Regions from separate parts of the Homo sapiens genome. Here all the other regions are linked to region 1. Evidence: promoter capture Hi-C in 16 types of primary human blood cells and fetal thymus (Javierre and others, 2016). All regions are on one chromosome and are shown on one strand. Each heading gives the region's core, a stretch centred on a gene start or on the middle of the fragment in contact. The rest is flanking DNA. Distances are from core to core; before and after follow the strand shown. Region 1 holds the start of LTN1 (listerin E3 ubiquitin protein ligase 1). Region 2 overlaps BACH1 (BTB domain and CNC homolog 1). Region 3 overlaps BACH1 (BTB domain and CNC homolog 1). Region 4 has its middle 5.0 kb from the start of BACH1. Region 5 overlaps LINC00189 (long intergenic non-protein coding RNA 189).

The links. Contacts are between HindIII fragments. The CHiCAGO score rates a contact against its expected background, and 5 or more counts as called.
Region 2: a fragment that was not itself captured here is called in contact with the fragment with the promoter of LTN1 in region 1 in 5 of 17 cell types (neutrophils, naive CD4 T cells, total CD8 T cells and 2 more); the score reaches 8.0 in neutrophils.
Region 3: a contact is called between a fragment that was not itself captured here and the fragment with the promoter of LTN1 in region 1, in 6 of 17 cell types (neutrophils, naive B cells, activated CD4 T cells and 3 more). The highest score is 10.3, in neutrophils.
Region 4: a fragment that was not itself captured here is called in contact with the fragment with the promoter of LTN1 in region 1 in 8 of 17 cell types (naive CD4 T cells, naive CD8 T cells, neutrophils and 5 more); the score reaches 8.0 in naive CD4 T cells.
Region 5: a fragment that was not itself captured here is called in contact with the fragment with the promoter of LTN1 in region 1 in 1 of 17 cell types (neutrophils); the score reaches 5.0 in neutrophils.

Annotation. Positions count from the first base shown.
Region 1 is chr21:28,991,451-28,994,211 of GRCh38, reverse strand. It overlaps LTN1 (listerin E3 ubiquitin protein ligase 1), which reads left to right and starts at 1,335. Exons shown (of 30, transcript NM_015565.3): 1 at 1,335-1,448. The coding sequence starts at 1,407. It overlaps LOC105372766 (a long non-coding RNA gene), which reads right to left and starts at 1,109. Exons shown (of 3, transcript XR_007067835.1): 1 at 1,081-1,109; 2 at 531-642; 3 at 31-430. RefSeq lists enhancers at 1,051-1,110, 1,421-1,530. The HindIII fragment of the contact is 7,723 bases long and covers 181-2,761 here.
Region 2 is chr21:29,327,531-29,330,291 of GRCh38, reverse strand. It overlaps BACH1 (BTB domain and CNC homolog 1), which reads right to left. Exons shown (of 5, transcript NM_001186.4): 4 at 599-805. Among named protein-coding and RNA genes, the nearest start is that of BACH1, 30 kb to the right of the region's middle. The HindIII fragment of the contact is 1,283 bases long and covers 730-2,012 here.
Region 3 is chr21:29,309,768-29,312,528 of GRCh38, reverse strand. All of the region lies in intron 1 of BACH1 (BTB domain and CNC homolog 1), which reads right to left. Among named protein-coding and RNA genes, the nearest start is that of BACH1, 12 kb to the right of the region's middle. The HindIII fragment of the contact is 3,024 bases long and covers 1-2,761 here.
Region 4 is chr21:29,292,545-29,295,305 of GRCh38, reverse strand. No RefSeq gene overlaps it. Among named protein-coding and RNA genes, the nearest start is that of BACH1, 5.0 kb to the left of the region's middle. The HindIII fragment of the contact is 2,232 bases long and covers 235-2,466 here.
Region 5 is chr21:29,272,768-29,275,528 of GRCh38, reverse strand. The region is part of intron 1 of LINC00189 (long intergenic non-protein coding RNA 189); the gene reads right to left. Among named protein-coding and RNA genes, the nearest start is that of BACH1, 25 kb to the left of the region's middle. The HindIII fragment of the contact is 1,344 bases long and covers 665-2,008 here.

The DNA.
Region 1 (2,761 bases), core at 86-2,585:
CAGGGTCCAGTCAGGAAAACAGAAATCACATTAGTTATTGAGAAATATTTTAATATGGGAAATTGGTCAAAAGGAATTATAAAAGGTAACAGGTAATCACTGCAGGTAGCAGCTACCATTCCTAGAGCTAGGAAAGGATGGAACAAAAGAAGTGGTTGGAGTCATCAGAACCTAAAAGCTTGAAGGAGGGCCCTGAACACCTTAGTTCAGGCCTATGAAGAATGAAGAGAGGGTGATGGCTGGCTGTTACTGGATCTCTGGAGCACAAAGAAGGGATCCCACGGTGTTGAGGCTCAAACTTCTGAGGAGGTGGCTCAAACATTGGCTATCTCAGGAGCTCAGGGGAGGGGCCGCATGAAAGTAGAATTCAGATCTCTGAGGAGAGCACTGACTGCTGCTGTGATCTCTGAGGGGTGCAATAAGGCTGATTCTGTGATTGTTGGAAAAAGGATAGAGATTAAAACCACCTTTTGGCTAAAGCAATTGCTCCTGCCACGGTAAAATGCAGCTGCTGCTGGCATGATGCTTACAGAATGGAGCAAGTCCCTTCTTCCTCTTGCCTTTGTTTCCCTCTTGTTCGTCCTGTTGGTGGAATCTAGCAGAAGCCCCCCCAGTAACATGGAGTTGAGTATAAAAGGGTGACTGCGTGGACAAGAAACAATAACCAGCACACATTTACTTGTTTCTCTGGTGTGATTCTGAGTCGCACAATCAATGGGTTACAGGATTTGTACATTTCAAATTTTAATAGGGACTCCCACATTATCCTCTTTCCTAAACTGCACGTTAACAGTTTCAATATGAATAAAAGGGGACGGGGAGGGGAGATTTAGAGAGAATAGTGCCTACAGCAGTAATCAAATTTTAACAAGACTTGGGAATACTGTCAAAATGCAGGATCTGATTCAGGAGTTCTGAGGGGCCCGAGTTGGCCTTTTCTAAAAAACGCCCAGGTGATACTGATGATTGCATCATGTTGGAAGTCTAAAACACTCCCATCTTCCCACAGCCTCTACCATAACATTCTAATGCTACCCTTATGTGAAACTGCCCCTCTGATGATTCACGCCAGTTTCCTACCCTCTAAGCAAGGAACAAACCTAGCTTCTGAAAGCGGGGAGGACAGGATTTGGCGCCACGGGTCCAATGCTTGGCTTCCTATTGGCCAGGAATGACATCACTCAGACAGGCGTGGCTTTAGCTGTGACGTCTCCGGTGGCGGATGGTCAGGGACACAGCGGGAGGCGGGAGCGGAAGTGGGGCAGCAAATGGACAGGGTGGGTGGCGGAAAAGGGCCCGGGGGAAGTTATTACAGGGTGTCCTCTTCCGCCGCCAGAAGCCGGAAGTTGTGTCCCGGACGTGTCAACCGGGGTCTGAGTGCTCAGAGTACAGCTGCAACCGCGACCATGGGCGGGAAGAACAAGCAGCGAACTAAAGGGAACCTGAGGGTGAGCGGGGGCTGGCTCGGCCGACCCGGGAGCCTCGCTTCGAGGCGGCTGGCTCCGCCCAGCGCGTTGCTGGAGGGTGTGTGGAGCGCGGCTGTAGGGAGGCGTGTGTTTCCCTGTCGAGTGTGACCTCTCTGTTGTGTGTGCGTCCCTGAGAGCGGTTTGTGTTATCTCTGAGCAGATTGGGGAATCGTGAGAGAAAAGATGTACCATGCCAGAGCTGTCCTCATCCGAGCACACACCCATAATATTCATGAAGAAATGATAATGTGTCAGGTTCACTGGAAGGTGATCTGGCCGAGGTAGCGGGTTGGTTGGGGGAGGGCGGCGCTGGGAAGAAGGAGAGTTGGGAGAATGTTAAAGTGAATCCACTGTGGAGGTTACCGCAGATTGTGCCTCTCCTTTGCTACCTACAGTGGCTTCTCCTAAGCTAAAGCTCTTAGGATGGTATATTTGGTTTCTGGACTGCCTGTTACCCCTTTCCATCTGCAGTCCCATCTTCAGCTCCCTCCTCTTGGCTTACTTCATCCAGCCACACTGATCTCTTCACTGTGCCTTGACTACCTGGCCGGCTCCCAACGCTCTTCAGTTAGGTGGCTCCAAACTTTGCTCTCGACACCTCAGTGAGGTCTCCCATGATCACCCTCTTGGTAGCCCTTCCCCACTCCCATGTTCTTCCTACTTTATTTTACTCCATTGTATTTATGACATTTATTGTCTTGGTTCACTAGGACGTAAGTATTTTGAAAGCAAATGTTTTTATCCTCGGAACCTAGAACAGACTGGCACCTAATAGACGCTCACTAAGTACTTGCTTAAGGACGACCTTAAAGTGGATTCGTGTAAAACTACACGATGAGGGGTTTTGTAATGGTATTTTTTTATGGTGTTAGATTTATTATAGCACAGTCCAATTTTATGAGAATGCTTTTTTTTCCTGTTTCTGATGTAGTTAATTCTAGTGATTTCAATGTCACATTTTCTTAGATCTGTCACTTAATCTGTTTTGGAAGATAATAACAGTATTAACAATTATAGCAACCTGTTGTGTTACTGTGCTAAGCACTTTACTTGCATCTTTTAATGTTTTTTATTTAACAGATTTTCTCAAATGTTTTATATTTGAAAAGTTCTTATGAGGAAAAGTTGCAAGAATATTAGAACGACATCCCATATACTCTTTACCTACATTTACCAATTGCTAATACTTGGTTGCATTTGCTTTCTCTCTCTTAATTTATGTATTTTTCTGAACTTATAAGAGTTAGTTGCAGAAGTCGGGACTCTTAACTCCTAAATACATCAGCATGTATCTT
Region 2 (2,761 bases), core at 122-2,621, 340 kb before region 1:
TCCGGAGGCTGAGGCAGGAGAATGGCATGAACCCAGCAGGCAGAGCTTGCAGTGAGCCGAGATCGCACCACTGCACTCCAGCCTGGGCGACAAAGCAAGACTCCATCTCAAAAAAGAAAAAGAAAAGATTCAAAAGCAAGCATTGTTCTCACTTAGGATCCCATTAGATATTAATATTTTCAATTCATATCACCATATCTATCAGAATTTTTTTCCTTAGATGAAAGATCCTGGTTGGTCTGGTTTTGGTATCAACCAAAACAAGTTATTCAGGTCCACAGTTCATTTAAATGAACACCTGGAATATTAACTTCTATAGACACAAAACAGAGAACCTAAAGTGCTTTATAATTTCTTGAATCTATTCACAACCACTAATGATTAGGTAGACAGTAAAGTCATTCTTAATTTGAAAACCTTCTTTTTAAAAAGCACTTACATATCACAGCATATCATGGTAAAAATGATAAAATGGTAATTGATACATATTAAAATAAGTAATTGAGCATTATATCTGACCTAGAAATTTAAAAACTATTTCCTTGACAAAAAAGAAAGTGGTGGAATTTAAATAGTAACAAGAAACTTTTACACTTACCAGCTTCTCAATTTCTGATTCAAGATTCTGTATACAGTCAAGTTTTCTCTTGCGACAGCGCTGTGCAGCAATTCTGTTTTTACTTCTTCTTCGAATATCATGGATACAATCCAGCTGTTCTGGAGTAAGCTTGTGCATTTTCAACAAGGACTGAAAATCATTTCGAGACAGTGAAATTATCCGTTGTGCATTGAATGGCAGTTTTACCTAGAATATGAAATAAATATTACTAATTATTGCTGTATTTTATAATTATAGTCAAACCTAGGAAGATGAAGGTATACATCTAAGTTTTTCAGAGAACTTATTTTACATTAAAGAAAACATAGGCCTCTATCCCAATTTCTATACAATCTCAAAAGGATATCTGCACTGATCTACACATATTTTTTTGGAGACAGGGTCTCTGTCATGCAGGAGTACGGTGGCACAATCATGGCTTACTGCAGCCTCAACCTCCTAGGCTCAAGCGATCCTCTCACCTCAGCTTCCTAAGTAGCTGGGACTACTGGCACATGCCACCATGCCTGGCTAATTTTTGTATTTTTTGTAGAGATGGGGTTTTACCATGTTGCCCAAGCTGATCTCAAACTCCTGGGCTCAGGCAATCTACCCACCTCAGCCTCCCAAGGTGTTGGGATTACAGGCATGAGCCACTGTGCCCAGTCTGTACTCCCCGCCATATTCGTTACCGCATTATTCACAATAGCCATGATATGGAAACAACCTAAATGTCCATGGATGGATGAACGGATAAAGAAAACGTGGTGTATATACACAAAGGAATACCATTCAGCCTGATAAAAAGAAGGAAATCCTGCCATTTGCCTACAATATGGAGAACTTGGGAGGCATCATGCTAAGTGAAATAAGCCAGACACAGAGGAGAGTAAATCCAACATGATTTCACTTATACGAAGTAGACAGAACAGTCAAACTCACAGAAACAGAGAGTAGAATGGTGGTTGCCAGGGGCTAGGGAGAGGGAAAAAATGGGGAATTGCAATTGGATGGGTTAAGTTTCAGTCATAAAAGAATAAGTTATAGAGATCTGCTGTACAATATTGTGCTTATACTTAACAATACTGTATCGTACACTTAAAATTTTGTTATAAGGGTAGATCCCATGTTAAGTATTCTTACAAAAAACAAATAAAGCCCAAGAAAGGGGAAAAAATGCAATGGATAAAATAGAAAAATAATTTTTAAAAAGAATGTAAATTGTGATTATAAAGAGAAAAGCCAACTATTGAAAGGCAAAAAAAATCATAAAATATAAAAACAAAAAAAAGAAAAAATATTTTAATTAATATATTTTTGGAAGGAACTAACAGGCCCTTGTCATTATTGGACTTATAAGTAATATTTTACAGAAAGGATCTATCAAATACAAACAGAATATACAAATCAAGCTTGCTTTGATTAATATCATACCAGCTACATGTAACTCATGCTAAATTAAGACATTCATCAATAGTTGAAATGGCCAAAGGAAAATTTAAAAATCAATGGCCATGAAAAACTAGATCCAATAAACTTTACTCCACTAGAAGTCACATTCCTACAACTAATCACTGTTAAACCACTGCTCAGGGACATGTCCCAGGTCTAGAGGTTCTTGTTGGCAATGAGCAAGACTGAATATATGCTGCATTTTTCCAGGAGTTATCAAATAATGAGCATAGAATCATTATTCTTTTTTGTCTTGCAGCATGGCATTTGATTTAAACAATTAAATGGCCGATGTGTGAACACAGCCAATGTGTGAACCTACTTTATGGTTAATATATCTACTGGAAACGAATGAACAGAAGTCCTTCAAACTTCATCTCTCTCTTTTGGTATTTATCACACAGTGTTTTTAAAAAATTTTTTGAGACAGTCTTGCTCTGTCTCCTAGGCTGGAGTGCAGTGGTGCAAACCTGGCTCACTGCAACCTCCGCCTCCCACATTCAAGCGCTTCTCCTGCCTCAGCCTCTCGAGTAGCTGGGATTACAGGCACCCACCACCACACCCAGCTAATTTTTGTAGAGACGGAGATTCGCCATGTTGGCCAGGCTGATCTCAAACTTCTGACTTCAGGTGATCCACCCACACCTCGGCTTCTCAAAGTGCTGGAATTAACAGTTGTGGGCCACTGCGCCCAGCCCTATCACACAGTCT
Region 3 (2,761 bases), core at 82-2,581, 320 kb before region 1:
GATTCCATAGGATTTTCTATGCACACAATCATGTCATCTGCAAACAGAGACCATTTTACTTCTTTCCCGTCTTTATGCTTATTTCTTTTTCTTCCCTTATTGCAATGACCGAATAGTGAGAGTGGTGACAGTGGGTATCCTCATCTCATTCCCATATAAGGAAAGTGTTAAGTATTTCGCCACTAAATATGTTAACTGTAGATTTTCTAAGATGAGCAACTAATGGGCAGAGAGGCGGGTGCAATTGTTACTATCCCAGTTAAGGCTCCCACAAGAAAGAGGGGAGGGGAAAAAAGCAAAGAATGAAAATTCCCCCAACACGTAAAATTTCCCAACTCAGCCTCTTCCACGGTTTGTCTACACCACTTTCTAAATGCTTACATCTCAGATACCCCTAAAATCCCACAATCAGGGGCTGAAGATGAGGACAGAGTTGTTATCAGGGAGCACAAGTAAGGACATAAAGACTTCTCCAGAAACTGCCAAACAGCAGCTAGCGCTGCTCTAGGGATACCTATGGGTGGACAGCACAAAAGATTAATAGCACTTTATAACTTGAGGACTCCACTGTCAGTTAAGCATGTCACTTTACATCTCTGTGACTTTTTTCAACTTTTAGAATAGACAAATAATGAGAGACTTAATTATAACTATAGCATAGAATGTAAATATTATTAACCTTGACAAAATAAAGCAGGCTGGGAGACAGAATCAGGAAGAATGGGAATGGTATTTCCATACAACTTACAATGTGCAGAGTCAAAAGGCACTGCCTCAGATTAATGAGACAAGAAAAAGAAATAGAAAAAAAGTGTTTAGAGCTGGAGTTGCAGAGGTGATCAACAGTAGAAGTGGAATAATAAGATTACAAATACATGTGGGGGGATAGTAGAGTAAACGAAATCATCACCCACAGTAATACCAAGTCAACAGATAATATCTTAGGTTGATAAATAAACTGAGGTGTAAACATTTTAGACAGAGGTATCCACCAAAAAAATTAAATAGCAGAAACCAGTAAACATTGCACATAACTCTGAAGCAGAATTAGGGGGTGAGGTGCAGCAGATAAGGTTGTTCTCTGTACTTAAAAAAACAAACAAACAAAAACCAACAAGTATTACTTTGACTAAAAACACAAACTTAAAATGTTTAAATAGATAGTAAACAAAAGTAGCAAAATTTAGTTAAATGTAAATGGTTGATCACTTGGTTGCAAGTATTAATATAACTTTTTAGGAGAGTCTTCAAATAGAAAAGGCATTTGATAGAGAATATTCTGAACTAAAAAGATTTTAACAAAACTAAGAGAAGGAAAGAAAAAAATACAGAAAGACATCTTGTTTGGGTACGATGTTACACATACTATTTAATACTGGTGAATATTAATTTAAATCAGTTAAAATTTTAAGGGTATCCTCCAGAAAAATGAGCTGTTGAACTGCCAAATCACTAGAGCACTGGTTCTCTGCCTTACAGAATCTGATGAAATCTATTGAACTTCCACCAGAAAACCACGCACATAATAAAATTTTGCATTTGCCTTTAATGGAACTGATGAATAATGGATCCTCTCTTAAAATTTATTGACCCTCCTTATACCCCTCGATCTATAATTCTTTGCTCTCCTGTACTGAATTTCCAAAAGGAACCATTTATACTCACACTGTCTCTTCCCTCTCTTCCCAATTTCATTTGAGGCCACTCAAACAAGCCTTTTCCCCTCCACTCCGTGGAAACCATTTAGTGAAGCTCAACAGCTTCCACATCACCAAATGGCAAATGTTCAGTCTTCTTACACAGCATCTCAGCAATAGTTAACAAGTTGATCATTCCTTTCCTGAAACCTTGTCTTCACTTGGCTTCCAGGATACCACAATCCTCTGGTTTCTTCTTTGCACACACTCCCTAGGTGAACACATCTGGACCCACAATGGAGACACGATCACTTCACTGACTTGCTGAACACTCTCATATTCGTATTTGGTCCAATCTTGACTTCTCTCTTGAATTTCATACTCATATAGCCAACTGCATACTCAAATTACTACCTGTATGTCTAATAGGCATCACCAATTCAGTATGTCCAGAAATCTTGGTTGCCACCCTCATCACCATCACCATGCCTTGTTAGGATATATAATTAAAATATTAGCATGGTAAGATCTAGGTAATTTTTGTTTCTGCATTCAAATTCTTAACCATAAATACATACTACTTTATAATCAGAAAAATGTTGGAATAAATAACTATAAACAAACAAAAAATGTGCCTTGGTTAAAAAGATAGTTCACAATTATTTTGATTGTCGTGAAATCTCCCAAAGATTGCCAATTACATTTTCCCCCTTTAGAGTAGATATTTCCTACAGTCATCAGCAGATAATTGGTTTGTCACTACATGATAAGTTGATGGGCTCTAAAACTTAGCAGATTCTTCACAATAAATTACTAAAGAATAAATTAAATTTTATAGAAATCTAAAATAAAAAGAAGACTTGGTGTTTAAAAAAAATGAGAGAACCCTGCTATAGGAAAATGAGGAGGAAAGACCCATCAAGTCAAGTCTAGCCATGTGAACAAGGGCAAATGTGCATGTGTGAAACTGAATAGATAGCCTAAGTAGGTAGCTCCCACCCTATCTGTCTCACGAAGCCCTCTGAAAAATATGAAGTGTTAAACACACAGAATTATTAGGGACAACAGGAAATCAAGTTTTAGGTTATTTTAAGGCTACCAGCAGCTGTGGATAATCAGATTAA
Region 4 (2,761 bases), core at 101-2,600, 300 kb before region 1:
TTAACTTGTAGTTTGGCTTTCAGGCTTTAAACTGTCTTCAGCTTGGAGGTGGGGTTTCACCGGGGACCTGCCTCTATCTGCCTAGGCGTTTGACTGTCTTCTGTTGCTGTCACTAGTAGCACAATATAAAGATTTTGTGCTACTGTTTCACAGTGATTTGCAATTAGTGCTTTTTTTTGTCATGTAGTTTTGTTTTTAGTGCATTATTCTTTAGGAGAATTTATCCGTGAAGCTTGGGTATCACAGCTTACTGCTATGTCCTTGATTTATACTTCTCATTGACTGTGAGAAGTGATGGCTAGTTTTCCTGCTGTGAGCAGGTTTGGTGATATACAATACCATTCGCAAGATGTTATATATGTGCATTGTCACATTTCTTTCAAAAATGATATTTCCAATTTTTCCAAACATTCATATCTTCTTTCTGGCCATCATACTGATTTTATTACCAAAATAAAATCTTATCATTAACTCTGAAAACAATTTAAATAACTATAAGCCATAGTTAGGGAATGATTTTTAATAAAACCTAGATACAAACACCATCATTTTCTCCTCTAATAGCAGGTTGTCTTGCCTGACTCTCAAAAATGAGGGAGCTAAATCATACAGATAGGTGACATGTTCATGGCTATAAGGAACACCATAGCATAATATTTGGACAGTAAGACATAATACATATCCTGAAAAAACTTTGATGTGTAGTCAGTGTAACCCTTGTCCCCTGTCCTCCTCCCTAACCTCAGGAAAGATCCACACTTCCACATTTATTCCCTACCCACCTTTGGTTTTGAATCCTCATTTCCACAGATGCAGCATGACATCTGTAACCCCTACAAATCTGCATACCCCTCCAGCCTTCCCAGAACTTCATTCCCTCCATCTTCATTGCCTTAGCTCCTTTTGTCTTTAAGTATTCACTCACTAAGTCAAGAAAATATTGGAGGGGGGGTGGGGCAAAACAACTAGGCTTTAAAGGTGGGGGATTACCCAGATCAACACAAGTCTCCCACTTGAACAACTGCTCTTTGACACCTGTACCCTGAGATGTGACTATGGATTAAAGTCATAGCACCCCTGCCTCCAGGTTGGAAAGTTTTATGGAAAATGAACATATTTTATTAGAAGACAATGAGAACTTCCTGGAGCAGATGAGTAAACACACCCTCATGTTTACCTGATAACTGAAATCAAAGATGAGGTGTAGCCTCTGGTTTGAAATGTTACAAAGTGTAAAATTAAGATAAAGGCAGAAAAATGAAAAGGAAATAGCCAGTTTTGAAGCAGAAGAACTCAGTGGGACAGGGGCCAAATCAGTGAAAGAGGTGCTGCTCAGATACCAGATTTAATGACAACCAAAGTGGCCCAAATATCCAAAAAAAATTGCGCTTCTGAAAACCAGTAGGAGGTTGCAGTGGACTAAAGATGGCCACAAAATTTTTATCGTTTTCCCCGTCAAGAATGGGAGTTTATTTTTCATCATCTTGAATCTGGCCCTGTGACTGCATCACCAAGAAGACACTGCAGAAGTGATGCTCTGCCAGTTCTGGTTCTAGTCTTTTAGAAGACTGTTAGCCTCTACTTCCTCTTTCTTCAAATGAGCTCTCTTGGGACACCCTCTCTCAGAACCAAACCACCATGCATGGGGCATGTGTGGCCTCTTCACTCAGGAGCCCCAGCAGAGCAACCAGCCAGTACTGAGCATCAAGTGCCAGTCATGTGAATGAGCCATCTAGGATGTTCTTTGGTCAAGTCTATACAAAAGAACTTACCAGCTGAGCCCAGCCAACACATAGAATTATGAAATAGTAAAATGATTATTGTTTAAAGTCATGAAATTTTGCAGTTTTTTTAATATAGCAATAGATAACCAAAATCAAGATTAAATAAAATATCAGATGATTAAAATGGAGCATGAAAATGGAGTTAACTTTGTAAGAAGAACCACAACCCCAATGATCATGACTTAGAGGAAAGTTCAGTAAATAAAACAGAAAATATTGAAAAAGGCTGTTTCATTTTAAACCTGTGTCAAGCTCCTAGACCTAAAATGACACTTGAAATTGTCCTCCATTAGAATTCATTGTGCTACAGATTTTCTCTCATTCTGTTACATATATTTATTTAATGAAGTAGAGAAATTCTTCTCTCATAAGCTAATGCTGCAAGGTGTTTTTATATGTATTATATGTATATGTACATACATATATTTTTTATATTAACATAACAGTTTATAATAAATGTTTAAGTGTTTTATAATAATATTTATACATTTATCACCATATATACACACACACAAATATATGTATACACACACATATACATACATATAAATGTCTGGGGATAGAAAGTGAGACCCTCAGAATCTTGGATGTAGCCTGACTGCTCTGCACCCAACTGGGGAGGAGTGAGGGGAGAAGAAAGTAGAGTTCCAGCCAGAAAGGTGACAGAAGACTGCCCAAAGCTTCATGTAACCAATCCCTCAAGCCTGCGGAAAAGTTACTAAATGTTTGGTGCCAGTGCCTTCCTGCAGAGTCAGTGATGCTTATGCTTGGTACTGAATCAGAGACAGCACCTTCAACCATAGTCACACGTCTGCAAAAGACAGAAAAATCCAGTCTGATAGCTTTGTTCTATGTATTTGTTCGTGTTTACACCAAGGATTGTAGCCTGCAGCTCCTGATCTTTTATTCTGAAACGTTCTGGAAGTAGTAAAGGCTACTCTATAACATACTTGTTTTAATAAATGTATTCTCCATTT
Region 5 (2,761 bases), core at 87-2,586, 280 kb before region 1:
CCAGGACTTCTGTTAAGGAACTCATGGATAATATAGAGGTTTTAATTTAATCAATGGGGGAAAGGAAAACTAGAAAAATCCATAGGAAAATTCACTAAAAACATAAAATCCATAATTTGCTATATCCATCCTAACACAATGTTTAAATCTTTTTTCTTTTTAGTAAGTTTTAAAATGCCTAAAAAAAGCTATTTGTGTTACAGGTTAGATATTTAAACTAACCCTTTCATTTCTATTGTGTGACCTACTAAAACTGCAAAACTCAGTGACACATTGAGATGTGTCCAGCATTTATATTATGTATATATATTATGACCAGCATTTATATTATGTGAAGTGACACATAACAGAGCACGAGTTATTTTGAAATAATTTATTGTTAATATGTTGAATGTTAAGGCGCTTGGTATGAAAAAAATAGCCACTGGAAGCATTAAGTATAAAAGAACCATAACTAGCTAATTTTGTATTAGTCTATGGCTGTGTAATAAATTACTGTAAATCATAACAGCTCAAAATAGCAATAAATATGTATTAACTCCCAGTTTCTGCAGGTCAGGAATTTGGGAACAGTTAGCTGAGTGGTTCTGGCTCAGAGTCTCTCATGAGGTTGTAGTCAAGATGCTGTCCAGGACCACAGTCACCTGAAGGGTTGGACGAAGCTTAGGATTGTTCCCAAGAAAGCTCACTCACCTGCTGCTGTTTCCCAGCAGGAGGCTTCAGATCCTCCTCTTCTGGGCTTCCCCATGGGCTGCTTGAGAATCCTCATGATATAGTGACTGGCTCCCCATAAAAGTGAGAGACCCAAGACAGAGCAAGACAGAAGCTGCATTGTCTTTTCACAGTCTAGCTTCAGAAGTCACACATGGTTATTTCCACAATATCCTATAGCTACAAAACTCCATCCTAATCCAAGTAGGAGGGTACTGCAAAAGGGCATGAACATGAGGAGTTCAGGATCACTCAGGGCCATCTTGGAGGCTGGCTACCATGAACCTTAATTGGAATCTAATGCTTAAGTACTACATCAGGAGAGTATCAGTTTTTAAAATTATATTACGTTCAATTCAACAAAAATATTGTTTTGCTCTTTTAATTTTTACCTATATATAAACATAAATCTATATACTTGTATTTATTTATTATTAAATTCACTAAAAACATAAAATCCATAATTTGCTATATCCATTCTAACACGTTTAAATCTTTTTTCTTTTTAGTAAAAGTTTTAATATGCCTAAAAAAAGCTATTTGTGTTACAAGTTAGATATTTAAACTAACCCTTTCATTTCTATTGTGTGACCTACCAAAACTGCAAAACTCAGTGACACATTGATATACAGGGACCAGCATTTATATTATGTAAAGGTAGTATGCTATAGATAGTGTCCTGATAACTTTTTTCCATTGGATAGTATATTAAGTTGATGCAAAAGTAATTACGGTTTTCGTCATTGCTTTTAATAGAAAACAACACAGTTACTTTTGCTCCAACCTAATATTTGTAAGATTTATCCAATTGTGGGTATTGTAGTGTCTTATTAGGTAAGAATGCTATGTAATATTTCATTGTGTGATTACACAACAATTCTTGAATCCACACTCCTGTTGATGTGCATTTGAGTTCTTTCCAGGTTTTTGCTTTTAGGAACAGTGTTGCTGTGACCAGTCTTAAACATGTGCAAGAGCTTCTCATATATTCCTAAGAATAAAACTGCTAACTCACCTGGTATATGAATATCCATCTGTTTTCCAAAGTTACTGCACCTGTTTACCTCCCCACTAAAACTTCAAAAGATTTTCAAGACTTTTAATTTTTATTAATTAAAAACTATAATGACCTTATATTATCCTAAAAAGTAATTAAGAAATATAACCCTGTCCTGGAGAACATAATCTAAACTAAAAGAAAAATTGTATCTAAAACATATAGGCAAACAGACAATTCCAAGATATTACATATGTAAGGATAGTTCCCTATAGGGTGATAGTACATCTCAAACAAGCTTTTCTGGGAAGGAACCCCTAGTGATAGAGAAACATAAAAATGCAGTTTGTCTCACCTTATACCTATTCCCACATCTCCTCACCAAGTCTGAAGATATGGCAAAAACTTCAGAATTCATTTGAAGTTTCATGTTTCATTGTAAATGTTGCTTTTTTATTTTTGCCTGTTACTCCAATATATAACTATTTTGTGTCAATATATTTTATTATGAATCTTTGAGTATAATTGATAACCTAAAAATATGTGGCATGTTTAATCTCATGTTAATCTACTGTTCCTTGGCCAGGCACTGTGGCTCATGCCTATAATCCCAGCACTTTGAGAGGCCAAGGTGGGCAGATCACTTGAGGCCAAGAGTTAGAGACCAGCCTGGCCAACATGGCAAAACCCCATCTCTACTAAGAAGTACAAAAATTAGTTGGGTGTGGTGGCACATGCATGTAGTCCCAGTTACTCAGGAGGCTGAGGCACAACAATCGCTTGAATTCAGTAGGTGGAAGTTGCAGTGAGCTGAGATTGTGCCACTGCACTGCAGCCTGGGCAACAGAGCGAAGCTCTGTCTCAAAAAAAAAAAAAAAATACATCCATTTAAAAAGTACAACTATAAGTGGTGGGAATGTCTTGGATTTTCTTGCATAATCCAATATCCTTTTTTAAAAAAAAAGATTCTAGAGACAGGGTCTCACTTTGTTGCCCAGGCTGGAGTACAGTGGCTCAATCATGCCTCACTGCAGCCTCAGACTCCTGGGATCA